2 separate regions of the Homo sapiens genome follow, and region 2 is linked to region 1. The links are contacts of gene promoters, found by promoter capture Hi-C in blood cells and fetal thymus (Javierre and others, 2016). All regions are on one chromosome and are shown on one strand. The core of a region is centred on a gene start or on the middle of the fragment in contact, and the rest is flanking DNA. Distances in the headings are between cores, read along the strand shown.

What was found. The method cuts DNA at HindIII sites, captures the fragments that hold promoters and counts their contacts. A CHiCAGO score of 5 or more calls a contact.
Region 2: a fragment that was not itself captured here is called in contact with the fragment with the promoter of BRD1 in region 1 in 1 of 17 cell types (monocytes); the score reaches 5.1 in monocytes.

What each region holds. Positions count from the first base shown.
Region 1 is chr22:49,826,357-49,829,441 of GRCh38, forward strand. It overlaps BRD1 (bromodomain containing 1), which reads right to left and starts at 1,517. Exons shown (of 13, transcript NM_001304808.3): 1 at 1,141-1,517. RefSeq lists an enhancer at 1-181 and silencers at 682-851, 1,582-1,651. The HindIII fragment of the contact is 34,147 bases long and covers 1-3,085 here.
Region 2 is chr22:50,629,017-50,632,101 of GRCh38, forward strand. It overlaps LOC124905149 (a long non-coding RNA gene), which reads left to right and starts at 2,478. Exons shown (of 2, transcript XR_007068161.1): 1 at 2,478-3,085. The HindIII fragment of the contact is 597 bases long and covers 1,200-1,796 here.

The DNA.
Region 1 (3,085 bases), core at 267-2,766:
AGGCCCTCAGCAGGGCAGGGCGACCCACGACCTCCTCTGCTTCACCGCTTCCCCCCTGGGCCGGTTCTGTCCCTGGCCCTTCCACTGGGACAAGCATTTCCACTGGGAGGGATCCGCGGGGGCACACACGTAGCTTCTCAAGGAATAATTCCCTTAAGTACATCGAAGAGCCCTGCGGGCCACAGGCGGGGAAGGCTGCCCACAAGACGGCCGCTTCCATCTTCCCACCGCCCGCCCAGGGAGAAGCCGGCCACGCGCCGGGCCTCTCGGTCAAGGCCACAGGGGCCGCGGCCGCTGAGCTGTGCGAAGTTGTGTGCAGCACACAGCACTCGGGACGGCGCTGGGCCGGCCAAACAAAAACATCCGCCGATTCCACTAACTACACAACCACCTGGCGACAGACCCTCAAAAACAGACACGGGCGGCCGCGCTTTCTGGGGAGACGGGGCCGCACCCCGCGGGGCAGGGGGTCCCGCTGCTACGGATTCTCAGAACTCCCGCGTCCGCTCACAAGAGCCGCGTTTCCCGTGAACTGCGCCTCAATCGTGTCACTCGTTTTAAAAGGCCCGGGGAAGCCTCGCGTTCGTCGCGAGGCGTCTCCCTGCAAACGCCCGGGGAGGCCGCGGTGCCGGTTCCCAAGCCCGGCCGCCGCAGGCCGCGCGGCTCCTGGGCGATCTCGGGGCGCGTCCCTGCTCACAGGGAGTTCCCGTCTTGGCAGAGCTCGGCGGGCCTGTCTGTTACATAAGGGGCGGCCCGGCCGGCTCGGCGGCTGCCCGAGGCCCGACCCGACTCGAGCGCGGACTCCGGGCAGGCGCCCGCGGCCCAGGCCGCCGAGACCCACAGCCCGACTCGGCCTCCCTCGACTCCCCGGCCTGACCTACCCGGTCTCCCCGCCCGGCCTCCCCGTCTTCCCGCCCGTCTCCCCGGCCGCCCGGCCCGACCTCCCCGGTCTCCCCGCCCGGCCTCCCCGGCATCCCGGGCTCCCGGCCCGCAGACAATGCGGAGCCGCCGCCGCCGCCGCCGCCGCCAAACATGGCGTCGGCACCACAACCCCGAGAGGCCGGGCCGAGGCGGCGGCGGCGGCCGGGCGGCCCGCGAGGCGGCGGGGAGGCCTCCCCGGCCAGGCCCCCGCCCACTCACCTTCGGGGCGCCGCGGCCGCGGGAGCCCGGCAAGCGGGCGGGCGCGGGGGCCGGCGCGGCCGAGGCGGTGCTAATGGCGCCCGCGGCTCCTCCGCCAACGGCCGCGCAGGCCGGGCCCCGCCGCCGCTCCTGGGCGCGGGCCCCTCTCGGCCGCGGCGGCTCCGGGCCCGGCAGCGGCGGCCGCGGACTCTCGGGCAGCGGCTCGCGCGGCGCGGGCTCGGGCTCGGGGCCCAGCTGGAGGCCCGGCTCGGGGGGCCCGGCCGGCGGGCGCGGGCGCGGGCGCGGGAGCGGGCGGCGGGCGGCGGGCGCGGGACGCGGGGCTGGCTCGGACTCCAGGGCCGGGTCGCTCGCTCGCTCCCCAGCGAAGCAAACAATGCGGCGAGCGCTCCGCCCGGCGCGCTGCGTGCGAGACGCGCCCCGCCCGCCGCCGCCATGACGCGCGGACTCCGCTGCCTCGGCCGCGCGCGGGGGAGGGGGCGCCGCGAGGAGCGGGGGCCAAAGGGGGCCCTGAGGCGGCGGGGACCGGGCTGGGAGTGGGGGGTCGGGAGGATGGAGAGTGGGGGCCCTTGAGTTAGGGAGGACCGGGCCAGAAGGTCCCTGAGGGGGTCAGGAGGATGGAGAATGAGGGGCCCTGAGGCAGGGGGACGTAGGCCTAGGAGTGGGGGGCCCCGAGGCAGGTGGGGAGCAGCCGGGAGTCGGGGGCTTTGAAGCAGGGGGGTACCGGCTGGGAGTGGGGGTCCCTGAGGCAGAAGGGCATTGGCCCAGGAGTGGGGTCGCTGAGGCAGGAGATGGCCCAGGAGTGGGCGGCTCTGAGGCAGGGGCTACCACCGGCCTGGAGTGGGGGGCCCACAGGCGGGGGGACGGGCCGGGAGTGGGGGTACCTGAGGCAGAAGGACATTGGCCCGGGAGTGGGGGGCCCCGAGGCAGGATGGGGGAGCAGCCGCCAGTCGGGGGCCCTGACGGGGGAACGGCCAGGAGTGGGGGTCCCTGAGGCGGGGGGGACCAGCTGAGAGTGGGAGTCCCTGAGGCAGAAGGCCATTGGCCCAGGAATGGGGGGCCCTGAGGCAGGGGGCGATTGGCCCACGAGTTGGTGGGGGCCTGAGGCAGGGGGCGATTGGCCCACGAGTGGGGGGAGGCCTGAGGCAGGGGGCGATTGGCCCATGAGTGGGGGGCCCTGAGGCAGGAGGCTATTGGTCCGGGAGTGGAGGTCCCTAAGAGGACAGAGGGGGCCCTGCGGGGGCACTGGGTGGGAGTGGAAAGGGCACTGGCCGGGACACGCGACTAGGTAGAGGTGGGTGGTGCAGCCGGGCTGGGGAGCCTCCCCTAGTGAGTGTCAGGCCCGGTGTGCAAGTAGTCCTGCCAGTGTGAGGGCCCTGCCGAGGCCGGCGTGAAGCAGATGCCCTTTAAGGTTGCAAGAAAAGGCCCCTGCGGGTGGGAGTTGAGAGGCCTGAGTCTCTGCCTTCACTTTGGCCTTTTGTGTAAACTCTAAAATTCAGTGGGGTCATAACAATTTTCACTCCAAGATTAAATCCCAAATGTTTTAAGGTGAGGCAGGAGCTCCTTGGTTTCCTTGAGAATTTGTGATCAGGACGATGGTGCTGTGGAATCCCTGGGTTCCAGCAGCACAGCCTGTGGCATCCAGGCAGGCCCCTCAGGAAGAGCAGCTGTCCACCCTGGGACAGACCGTCCCCACGGGGGCAGCCGAGCGGCCCCACTGCTCGGGGCACTGCACCAAACACCTTATTGGGAGTGGGGTGGCCTTGTTCGCCCAAGTGTCCCTGATAGGGGCCAGGCCCCACAGGCCTTTTCCTGGCCAGTCCTCATGCCCATGGCACCCAGTGTGTGGGTTGTGACGTGACGACTCAAGGGCAGGTAGGACCCCAGCCAAGGCCCCAGTGGTCAGTCCTGATCTAGGACTCCCTGCAGACACACCCTTGAGCTTAGG
Region 2 (3,085 bases), core at 248-2,747, 800 kb after region 1:
GTGTGGTGGTGGAGGCGTGGTGTGGTGTGGAATGTGTGTCTGGGGTCCAGTCTGGCCTGTTGCAGGGTTACGCTGCTGGGGAAAAACTCATCTGAGGACAACGTGATTGGGTCCTCGCTCCCTCGTTGGGCAGCCTTGGACTTAACCTTTTTGATCTTGAAGGAAAACACAATATGTCACCTCCAAATATATTTCCTTGACACGGTTCAAGACAGTTACTCAGAAGGACTGGAAATAGAAGAATAGCTGAAAAGCTGTCTTTTGTGGGGGAGATTTGCATCTGTGGAGAGAATCTACACTGATGCGGCCAGGCCTCCTCTGAGGCCCTCCTTGCCTGATCTGGGAAGAGTAACAGTCTGACGCCTTTAAAGGCCTGAAGGGAACATTCACCATCTGTTCTCTCTCAGGGCTGCTACCTGTGAGGTTTCATCTGTAGAACAAGGCCACCTTTGCTAGCCAGGCCTCCTCTGCTCTCCCTCCTGTAACCGGTCTTGCCACTGGTCACCTGATTTTCCACCATAAACTGTGGCCATACTTTGAGCCCATGTTCTTTCTGTAACCTCAAGATGGTATATAAGCTTCCGAACCCCATTGGGAGGTTGGGGTCATCACTCTGGTTCTCCCTGTGTGCATGAATAAATCTGTATGCCTTTTTTCTTACTAACCTGGCTTTTGTCAGTTGATTTTCTGTGAACTCAGAATGCAGAAAAGTTTTTCTCTAGGCTCCTACAGTTTTGGTGCAGTCGGTAGGATAACTAAAGTCACTCTCCTGGGAGCCTCCGTCAGGGGAACCCAGGAGCCGACAAGCTGGCAGAAAGAAGGGTAAGAAGGTCTTAGCAGCCAGGCTCCCGGCCTCTCTGGAATCTTGTCAAGCCGACGGTAAAAATGTCTGTTTACCTTGTTTTCCTCTTCAAAGTTTTAATGAGAGAAATGTATTTATGTGATTAGTTTTGTATTCATATTGTTTGATTGCTTTTTTTCCCCAGAAATAGTCGTCTTTCATTCTTGTCTTTCTGTGTTTTTCTGTCATAAAGAGGGTAGAACACAGGCCTAAAACCCCTGTAAACCCCGTCTTGGGGCCGTCCTGCAGGCTAGTCAGTTTTGCAGCTCTGATCGGATGCGTCTAGTTAGACAGACTTTGCTGTGGGTCCCTGAACTGAAAACTGGATGAGATTCTCCTCTCTTTTGATGTCCTTGAAAGCTTGAGTTGTGAGCGAGTGGGAATGATGCAGGCCAGGCAGACCCCAGAGTGGAGCTTAGCCAGTGAGGGTTTTGGCTTTGCCCAGGAAAGAATTCAAAGACAAGCCAGAGGTAGAAGAAAACAGCTTTATTGAACAGGTGGCGTTAGAGCTCTGTGACTGCTCCTGCAGAGCAGGGCCACCCCGTAGGCTGAGAGTAGCAGCTCAGGGCAGTTTTGCAGTCACATTTATACGCACTTTTGATTGCATGTAGATTAAAGGATGGTTTATGCAGAAGTTTCTAGGGAAGGAGTAGTCATCATTGGGTCATTGCCATGGAAAGGGGTGGCAACTCCTGGGTGTTGCCATGGCAATGGTAAACTGACATGGCACAGTGGCGGGCATATCTGACTGAAAGCTGCTATTGCCCCAACCCTGTTTTAGCCAATCCTCAACTGGGTCAACTAAGTCCCACCTCCTACCTCAGGAGCACTCTCTTGGCCTCTGCCAATCCGAGGTAGTGACTCGCAGGTCACATTTTGTGGTCAGTCTGAAAATGGTTGGGAACCCAAGACATTTAATATTTTAAGCAGCACCGTTTTTGTTCTGAATGTGTCAAGCTTTTAGTTTGTCTTAAGAAGTCCCTGCCAGGCGAGCTGTCAGAGCCCCGGCACTGGGAGTGGTGGTCAACTTGCGGGTTGGTAAAAAGAGTTTACCGACAATAGGTTTGAAAAAGGAAAGTTTGGCCGGGCATAGTGGCTCATGCTTGTACTCTCAGCACTTTGGAAGTCCAAGGTGGGTGGATCACCTGAGGTCAGGAGTTTGAGACCAGCCTGGCCAACATGGAGAAACCCTGTCTCTACTGAAAGTATAAAACTTAGCCAGGTGTGGTGGTGCGTGGCTGTAATCCCAGCTACTTGGAAGGCTGAGGCAGGAGAATTGCTTGAACCTGGGAGGCGGAGGTTGCAGTGAGCTGAGACAGAGCAAGACTGTCTCAAAAAAAAAAAGAAAAAAGAAAGTTTGCCGGGCACGGTGGCTCACGCCTGTAATCCCAGCACTTTGGGATGCTGAGGCAGGTGGATCACCTGAGGGCAGGAGTTCAAGACCAGCCTGGCCAACATGATGAAACCCCATCTCTACTAAAAATACAAAAAATTAGCTGGGCATGGTGTCGGGAGCCTGTATTCCCAGCTACTTGGGAGGCTGAGGCAGGAGAATCGCTTGAACCTGGGAGATGGAGGTTGTGGTGAGCTGAGATCATACCATTGCACTCCAGCCTGGGCAACAAGAGTGAAACTCCATCTCAAAAAAAAAAAAAAGAAAAAAAAAGAAAAGAAAGAAAGTTTATTAGAATGCTGCAGAAGAGTGCAATGAGGTGCCTCAGCAAGAGGACTGAGTACGCCGGGTGGATTTCTCCTTAAGGGCATTTATAGGCCTTAAAGTGGAGGCTTAACAGTAATTTGGACCATATTAGCCACGTAAGTCATGATAAATGATTACATTTATAGTAATTTTGGTGCCTTAATGTCAGCGACGGTTGTACAGTGAGTTTCGTCATGGTATTCTGGAGACACATAGAAATTATAGTTACTTACACGTTTTTTGGGGGAAGAAATCTGGAACCAGATGCCTGCTTTAGATAATAGGGAGGTTTAGTTACTTTTGATTTTCCCCAGATAAGGAGTTTTGCCTCGGAGGGCCTGTTTGATGTTTGATGGTCGCCAGGTGGTTTTTGCTCTCCTCAGGCCCATCCATAAGGGGCTTTTGTCATCCCAATGTTTGTTGCCTGGTCAGTCCTCAGAAAGCCCAATCCCAACAGGCCTACCCTGTGTTACAGGTTAATGGGTCTGTGACTGGCAGCCCCTGACAGATTGTGTGTTACTGGAGGCACTGTATGTACAAACACG